3 separate regions of the Homo sapiens genome follow, and regions 1 and 2 are each linked to region 3. The links are contacts of gene promoters, found by promoter capture Hi-C in blood cells and fetal thymus (Javierre and others, 2016). All regions are on one chromosome and are shown on one strand. The core of a region is centred on a gene start or on the middle of the fragment in contact, and the rest is flanking DNA. Distances in the headings are between cores, read along the strand shown. Region 1 overlaps LOC105376076 (a long non-coding RNA gene). Region 2 overlaps PTAR1 (protein prenyltransferase alpha subunit repeat containing 1). Region 3 holds the start of NMRK1 (nicotinamide riboside kinase 1).

Region 1 (2,700 bases), core at 10-2,509, 5.3 Mb before region 3:
ACTTCAAGTCTCAAGAACCTCTAGGAAGCTCCTACCAGCCTTTTTATGGCACCTACTCAAGTGTTTCTCAAGAAACTCATCTGGAAGGGTGTCAGACCTCATGCTGGCTCTCTGTACATGCTTCTCCTTGCAACTGTCCCTGGAGAATAATGGTCTCTTCTTTCTGCTTTCCAAATCTTGTGTTCTTACTAGCAAACTCTGCTATGTTATGAAGGAGAATTTAGAAAGGGGTAATGATAATGCCTGGGTGACAATCCCAAGTTGCCAACAGACAATTCAGTACAGTTCACTCATTTTGCTTTGGTGAGTGAAAAAAATTGTGAGGTTCATTAGGGGTAATGGTAAGAGAAGCCACTGGCCCTTGGTCCCTGGATACATGTATTCTAGGTATGGAAAATATGACATAATGCACTGGATGGTGCTTCAGATTGCATATCGATCTTGTAAGACAGCACCACAACCCACATTGTGCTGCCCAATCTAGCACTGTATTTGAGACTTCAGTAGGTCATTCTGCTGCCTAATTAAGTAAACTGCTTTAGAATGGTGGGGTATGTTATGGTCAGTGAATCCCATGGGTATGAACCCTATTCCTGTGCTCCTTTTGTTTTAAAATGAGTTCATTGGTCAAAAATTAGGTATGCTAGTTATGTATTGTTGTGTAACAAATAAACCTCAAGCTTAGTGGCTTAAAACAATATTATTATTTCTGGCAGTTCTGTGGATTGACTGGGACCAACTGGGCAGTTGTTGGTTAGTGTCATGCAGTTACAGAAAGATAATGGCTGGGGCTGAAGTCATCAAAAGCCTTGACTGGCCTAGATGTCTGATTGTTTCTTTACTCACATGTCTGGTGCCGTGGTGCTTCTTGTTCTCTCTTTTCAACTGGCATCTCATGCTCCAGGGCTTTTCAGTGCATAGTGAGCTCAGGAAATTATACACAGCAGCTAACTTCCAAGAGGCAGGAAATGAGAGCTCAGGTTGGTTAAGGGTACAGCATCAATTTTGCAATATCAAAATGGTCAAAGCGGTCACAGTACTTCCCCAGAATCAAGGGGATGGAGGAAGTCCCATGGGATAGTGTGAAGGTCACATTGCAGAAGAGAATACGGGATAGAAGGTGGTGCTTTGCCTGTCTTGAAAAGAAAACCTATCATGTGTTAATTGGGGTACTGTATTAGGCTGTTCCTGCATTGCTGAAAAGGAATACCTGAGGCTGGGTAATTTATAAAGGAAAGAGGTTTAATTCACTCATGATTCCACAGGCTTTACAGGAAGCATGATGCTGGCATCTGCTTGGTGTCTGGGGAGGCCCCAGGGAGCTTACGATCATGGAGAAGGCAAAAATGGAGCAGGTGTCTTACGTGGTGAGAGTGGGAGTAAGAGAGAAAAGGGGGAGGTTCCACACACTTCTAAACAACCAGATCTCATGTGAACTCAGAGCTACAGTTCCCTAATGAAGGGGATAGCACCAAACCATTCATGAGGGATCTGTCTCCCATGATCCAAACAACTCCCACCAGGCTCCACCGCCAACACTGGAGACCACATTTCTTTTTTAAAAAAACTGTTTTTATTTTTATTTTTTCTGAATACATAGTAGTTATATGTATATATTAATGAGGTAGGAAATGACATTTCAACATGAGATTTAAAGGGCACACATATCCAAACCATATCAGGTATCATGACTGTAAACAAGGCATTCAGTATATCTATGGATAGTGATGAAGAAACTGGGGCAGGAAAACGTCAAATTGCTGTCCTGATGATGGAAGAATCCATTGTAAACAACCTGCCATCAGGTAGCTTGTCGGTTACTTTTGGTCCCTGTTGTTGAAAGCTTGGGCACCTAGCAATGACTCTAACAAGATCAGCTTTGCATGGGGGTTGGAGGGGGAATAAAACCTGCATTATTGCGCATAGGTATAATCTCTATGGCCACTATCATCATGAGCCCATAAAGCAAACATTGTCATGGCTAGGGAAAGAGGCTGAGTATCAGCCGTCGAATAGAACACTTTGTCCTGATTATTGAACATTTTCTGCAATGGATGGCCTTTTTTGAGCATTCATATGGAACACAAATAACACCAGAATCTATGCCTATTCAGAGAGGTCTCTCCTCATACCTCTTCCCCAAACTTCTTTATCATCAATTACCAAATTTTGCTAATTCCTGTATAATTAGTTCATACATTGTATTAGTCAGGGTTCTCTTAGAGGGAGAGAACTAATAGGATATATTATATCCTATAGGATATAATATATCCTATTAATATATATATATACTGAGAGAGACAGGAGTTTATTAAGTATTAACTTACATGATCGCAAGCTCCCATAATAGGCTGTCTGAAGCTGAGGAGAAAGGAAGCCAGTCTGAGTCCCAAAACTGAAGAATTTGGAGTCCGATGTTCAAGGGCAAGAAGCACCCAGCACAGGAGAAAGATGTAGACTAGGAGGCTAGGCCCATCTTGTCCTTTGAGTTTTTTTCCTGCCTGCTTTATATTCGCTGGCAGCTGATTAGGTTGTGCCCACCAGATTAAGGGTGGGTCTGCCTTTCCCAGCCCACAGACTCAAATATTAATCTCCTTTGGCAACATCCTCACAGACACACCCAGGGGATCAATACTTTGTATCCTTCAATCCAATCAAGTTGACATTCAGTATCAACTGTCACATAAATATACCAGAGTC
Region 2 (2,700 bases), core at 103-2,602, 5.3 Mb before region 3:
ATTTAGCATTACTGTGTATGAGGCATGGCAGTAAGCACTTTATTTTATATTATTTCACTAAATTCTCATAATCACAATCCAAAATATTCTTATCCCACTTTTCAGATAGGGAAACTGAAATTCTGCAATTTAAGCAATTTGCCCGTAGTCACCCAATTAGCATGTGGCAAAGTCAACATCAAAATTGTTTCCAACAAGTCAATTATGCTGCAAACAAAATGTCTGCCTACAATAATTGGGACATTTTCAGTGTTTAAGTAAAATATAAACTTTTTAATATCTAAGAGCAAATACACATAAACACATCCAATAGTCATTTAAAAATATTCTAGCTAACAATAAAATCAATTATTTTATTCTATCTTAATAGGAGATTAACATTTATTTGGGGCCCATGATTTCATTACTAGTGAGCATATTGGAATATTCAATTCAAATGAGCAACAAACAGTAGGATCAGTACACATTTATTTTGACCTCCAAGTCATTACATACATTACAACACAATATGCCTATGAAGAATAATTAACCTCTTCATTTTTTTACTTTTAGTAGTTTTTGGCACTAACTTAATGTTTATCAAGAAAAATAAATATAATATTCTATGTCACTATTCATTTAATTCCACAAATATTCCAAGTATTGACTATGGACAAAGATTAAAGTAGGCCCTTAGGACTGAGTGATTGAATGTAATGATAAACAAGACCTAATTTTGCCTCTAGGTTATCTTCAAGTTGGAGAGACTATATAAACAAATAATTATATAAGGCAAAATAATTATGAAGTAGAAACATAAACCACATTTTGGGGCCCACCAAAGAAGCTGCAATTAATTCTTAGTGGAATTATACATGGAAGACTGTAAATAAATAAAGTGGTCACGGCACCACCTTACCATACTGGAAAAAGTATGAGCAAAGATAAAAATGCATGGAACTTCACACATAGTCTGCTCTCTAAGAGATTATGGATACCAGAGCATGACTACAACACAAGGTACTGGTAAAATGTACCAGGAAGTGAAACCTTCTGAAACCTGGTCTCAATCTCCTGATCAGCTTGGCCTTCCATTACTTTCCTTTACATGTTACATTCCACCTGAGTCAAACTCCACTGTCCTATGAACACACGTCCTACCCGCCTACCTTCTTTTCTCGGAACATAATTCAGATTTACCTGCTTGCTATTCTTTCTGGCTCATGTCTTCCCGTCTCCTAATATTTAACAAAAAAAAAGTTTAAAGGCTTTCCTAACCTACCTAGTTGGAAAAAAATCTTTCATCTCTGCTTTTTTTTTTTTTTCTCTGAGACGGAGGCTCACTTTGTAGTACAAGTTGGAGTGCAGTGGTACAATCTTGGCTCACTGCAACCTCTGCCTCCTAGGCTCAAGCGATTCTCATGCCTCAGCCTCCCCAGTAGCTGGGACTACAGGCGCGTGCTACCATGCCCAGATAATTTTTTGTATTTTAGTAGAGACGGTGTTTCACCATGTTGCCCAGGGTGGTCTTGAACTCCCGAGCTCAGGTGATCCACCCGCCTCAGTCTCCCAAAGTGCTGGCATTACAGGTGTGAGCCACTGCACCTGGCCTCATCTGTTTTATGCGTATCTTACTTTTGTTACTTACATAAATATTGTCCTCTTAACTGGACCACAAATTTTTTGCACGCAGGTCCTCTCTAATACATGTTCAAATTATTCATTCACTCAACAAATTTTGTAAGCATCTACAATAAGCCAGGTACTGAGCTGGCTGAAGATGAGTAAGCACAGTCCCTGGCCAAAAGCAGCTCCATGTCTGACCACAGCACAGAGGAGTGGTAAGAGGATAGGCCTTCCTTAAAGCCATACTACCTGGGTTTGAATCCCAGCTTCTCCACTTACTACCTACATAACCTAACCTCTTGGAACCTCAGTGAAACAAGGACTCACTCAGTGAAACCTCAGTGAAACATCAACCTCATGGTGTTGTGAGCAATGAAATTCATTCCATTTCTCCACAGCTTTTTGACACACAGTGAGTACAATTAAACGCCATCACTGACTGACAAAGAAATGAGTATTTTCAACATAAGTAAGGAAGTCTGGAATAATGAGGAGGTTGTTCCTTTAGTAAAACTGTCTAAATTTCCAAACTTGTAAAATACGCAGCAATAACAAAAAACCCCTTTGTAGTCAAGTAGTTACATGGAAAGGTTTGTAAATGATGGGAAAGCCTCTGGAATTTCTTTTGACATCTACAATTTTCTAAAAAGTGATTATTCTACCTAGGTAAATTAGCATAGTCCCTTGGAATCTCCCTTTCTACATTAAAGAAAATGTGTCTGACCAATGGTAGCTGCTATTTGTTTGTACTTCTAACACAATTTCCTTCCTCCCTCCATCACAAGTGAAGACAAGAAGTCCATCCTCCATGAGAGACTTCTGTACAGCAGCACAAGGCAAAAACTAACACAGCAAGTACTTAAGTCCCCGCTTTTCATTTTATGGTTATGTGAAGATACAGGAAGACTTATCAAAGTAACACTTCCTCTACTGGCAGGTCTCTCCCTAAGAGAGCAACAGCAGCTACTGGGTTCAGACAGAGCCCAGCTCCATCACTTACTGGGAATTCTTGGGCAAATCACTTAATCTCTCTAGGCCTTAATGTCCTTCTCGTATGTAAGATGGAGCTATCATGGGTATATTAGATGATTAAAT
Region 3 (2,700 bases), core at 1-2,500:
TGGGTTTTTTTTTTTTTTTTAAGACAGAGTCTCGCTCTGTTGCCAGGCTGGAGTGCAGTGGCGCAATCTCGGCTTACTGCAACCTCCGCCTTCTGGGTTCAAGTGATTCTCCTGCCCCAGCCTCCCGAGTAGCTGGGACTACAGGCGTCTGCCACCACGCCCGGCTAATTTTTTGCAGTTTTAGTAGAGATCGGGTTTCACCAGGTTGGCCAAGATGGTCTTGATCTCTTGACCTCGTGATCCACCCGCCTTGCCCTCCCAAAGTGCTGGGATTACAGACGTGAAGGGCTGGGGTTTTTGAAAACGCAATTCATGCCCCTCCCCCATTGGTTTCATTTATGTAGGTTCTTAGGTAAACAGTTTTTTCTTTCCCCAAATATACAATTAATTTACAATATTGACTGTTATTTTGAACTTATGCCATTGGCTTCCTTGTGTGCTCCAGTTCTTTCCTCCCACCGAAGATTCAATCCGATAGATCAGGGGTAGGAAAACTTTTTCTGTAAAGTGCCAGACAGGAAATGCTTTGGGCTTTGCCAGCTGCTACTCAACCCTGCTGGGTAATGCGAAAGCGGCCACAGAAAACACAGATGCAAATGAGCGTGACCGTGTTCCAGTAAAATTTTACGGACACTGAAATCGTAATTTCATGTAATTTTCACGTGTCACAAAGTATTATATTTCTTTTTATTTCTTTTCAGTCATTAAAAAAAGTAAAAAAAAAAAAAATTCTTAGCAGGCCTTACAGTAACAGGCAGCAGGCGGGCAGTAGGTCATCACCCCAACGCTAGAGGAATGAGACCATATCGATCCGCGAGGATCAAGTCCTGATCCTGTCCCTGGCGACTTCTCCAGGCTGCGCGGTCTCTTGGAGGCAGCGTTCCCATTTTCAGGATTATTCCGGGGCGCTAGAGCACCACGCCACCATGAGTACACGTCCTCCTCGGCAGGCCACCTATCAGCTCTGTGAGGGTGGCAAGAGTCCAGGCAAGGCTTTCAGGGCGCAACCAAGTCCCGGGCTCCAGCACAGAAACCCTCTGGAAACACCTCCAGGCCCCAGCAAGGCGGCGCGGCGCGGCAGGGGCGAGCAGGTACGCACTCACCTGGCGCCAGTTCGAGTCCTCCCAAACACAGCGGCAGAGGCGACAGCCAAGCGCGCGCCTGTACCCAGTGCGCCGCTACCCGCAGCTCGCTCCCCGAGAGGCCCACAGCCCCTTTCCCCACGCTCCTCCTGGGTTAGAGGGATGCCAGGTAGGGGCGGTCACCAGAGGCCCCTTTTCTCTACTCTCGGCGCCGGGTTCCAGCCCCCGTTGGGGCGGGGCGGGGCGGGGCGGGGCTCCGGCTAGCTTGGCCTCTTCCGCGCGCCCCTGCGCAGCTCCGGCCCTTCCCTATCGGGAGCGCGCGCGGCCCGCGGCACTGCACTGGCGCACGCCCGCTTCGCCCTCGCTCGGCTCCGGCTGGTTCCGCCGCCGTGCGCGCCGCCCGCGCTCCTGCTGCGGCGAAGCTGCCAGCCCGGGAGCCAATTAGCGCTCGGCTAGGCGGGGTCCACTTCCTCGTCGGCCCGGCGCGCGCTCTGGACTGCTCCGGCGGCCGCGGGGCGGGGCGGAGCACTCGGCGGAGCCGCTCTGCCTGCGTCCGCTCTTCCCGCAGCCAAGGGTGGGCGCCGGTCCTAGGAGGCGCACGGTTGTAAGCCAGACAAAAAGAACTGGGGTGCCCGGAGTGCCAGGTGGCGGGCAAGCGGTGGGCTTTTCGGCGGGGTCTTTAGGATTTGCAGCTCCAGGAAGCGAGATGTCGAAGCCGCCACCCAAACCAGTCAAACCAGGTGAGGGAGGTAAGGTAGGCGCTTGCCAGGTCCTGCGACCGCCGCGGTGCCGGCGCCTCCTCTGCAGCTTGGCAGGGAGGACCCGGCGCGCACCCGGCCCCGAGCCTGGCTTCCGAGATCGGCCCCACCGGGATGGGCGCTCTTAGTTTTGCGTTCGCTGTTACGGAGGAGGGATCGATTTTGATAGCAAGAGGATTTCGAGGATTAATATATATATATATATTTAAAGGGGAGTAGCCCTCACTTTTGCTACGTTGTCATTCGCTGAAACTTTCAGAGGGTGTGATGGCAACGTCCCATGGAAGTTTTCCGGAAAGACAGGGCCATTGATCTCCCTTTAAAAAATGTCATGAAATGATCTTTAGCCACTTCCTCTTTTCTCAGTGTTTGTCACTGTCAAGTTAGGGTTCCTGACCGGCCAGAGCGAACGGGAAGTGCAATCCCTGCAGGGTGGGGTGGGCGAGCGAGCCTCCCTCGGGACTTAAGCGTGGAGCAGCGTTTGAAATTGACCTCGGGATCTTGGGAAGAGCGTTTAGAAAAAAACCCTATACTCGCGCTCCTGGTGGAAAGAATCTAGGATGCGGCAGTGATCTCAGCTGTTGCTATTTGGAAGTGTCATTTTATCATCTCCTTTGCCTTTGCTCTCCCAAAGACGTTGGCGTGCTAAACCTGAGAGGGCTGAGATTACTAAATTCCTCAAAGCAGTTTTCTGGGCGGATTGTCCTTGTTCATTTTTGCTCTGTTCTTAGAATATTTTCTGTGATATGCAGAAATAAGATAATTGTAAAAGAAACTGACGTATTTTAATTAAAAGTTGTAACATACTGTTCCGCTCATTCATTTGGGTAGGTAATTAGAAAGGACTGACGTATTTCAAT

Evidence for each region. The method cuts DNA at HindIII sites, captures the fragments that hold promoters and counts their contacts. A CHiCAGO score of 5 or more calls a contact.
Region 1: a fragment that was not itself captured here is called in contact with the fragment with the promoter of NMRK1 in region 3 in 1 of 17 cell types (total B cells); the score reaches 8.9 in total B cells.
Region 2: a fragment that was not itself captured here is called in contact with the fragment with the promoter of NMRK1 in region 3 in 1 of 17 cell types (total B cells); the score reaches 8.9 in total B cells.

What each region holds. Positions count from the first base shown.
Region 1 is chr9:69,768,201-69,770,900 of GRCh38, forward strand. All of the region lies in intron 1 of LOC105376076 (a long non-coding RNA gene), which reads left to right. Among named protein-coding and RNA genes, the nearest start is that of PTAR1, 9.5 kb to the left of the region's middle. The HindIII fragment of the contact is 1,163 bases long and covers 679-1,841 here.
Region 2 is chr9:69,743,096-69,745,795 of GRCh38, forward strand. The region is part of intron 2 of PTAR1 (protein prenyltransferase alpha subunit repeat containing 1); the gene reads right to left. Among named protein-coding and RNA genes, the nearest start is that of PTAR1, 16 kb to the right of the region's middle. The HindIII fragment of the contact is 5,082 bases long and covers 1-2,700 here.
Region 3 is chr9:75,086,905-75,089,604 of GRCh38, forward strand. NMRK1 (nicotinamide riboside kinase 1) reads right to left here and starts at 1,251. Exons shown (of 9, transcript NM_017881.3): 1 at 1,104-1,251. OSTF1 (osteoclast stimulating factor 1) reads left to right here and starts at 1,610. Exons shown (of 10, transcript NM_012383.5): 1 at 1,610-1,822. The coding sequence starts at 1,789. RefSeq lists silencers at 1,121-1,720, 1,911-2,000. The HindIII fragment of the contact is 4,153 bases long and covers 1-2,700 here.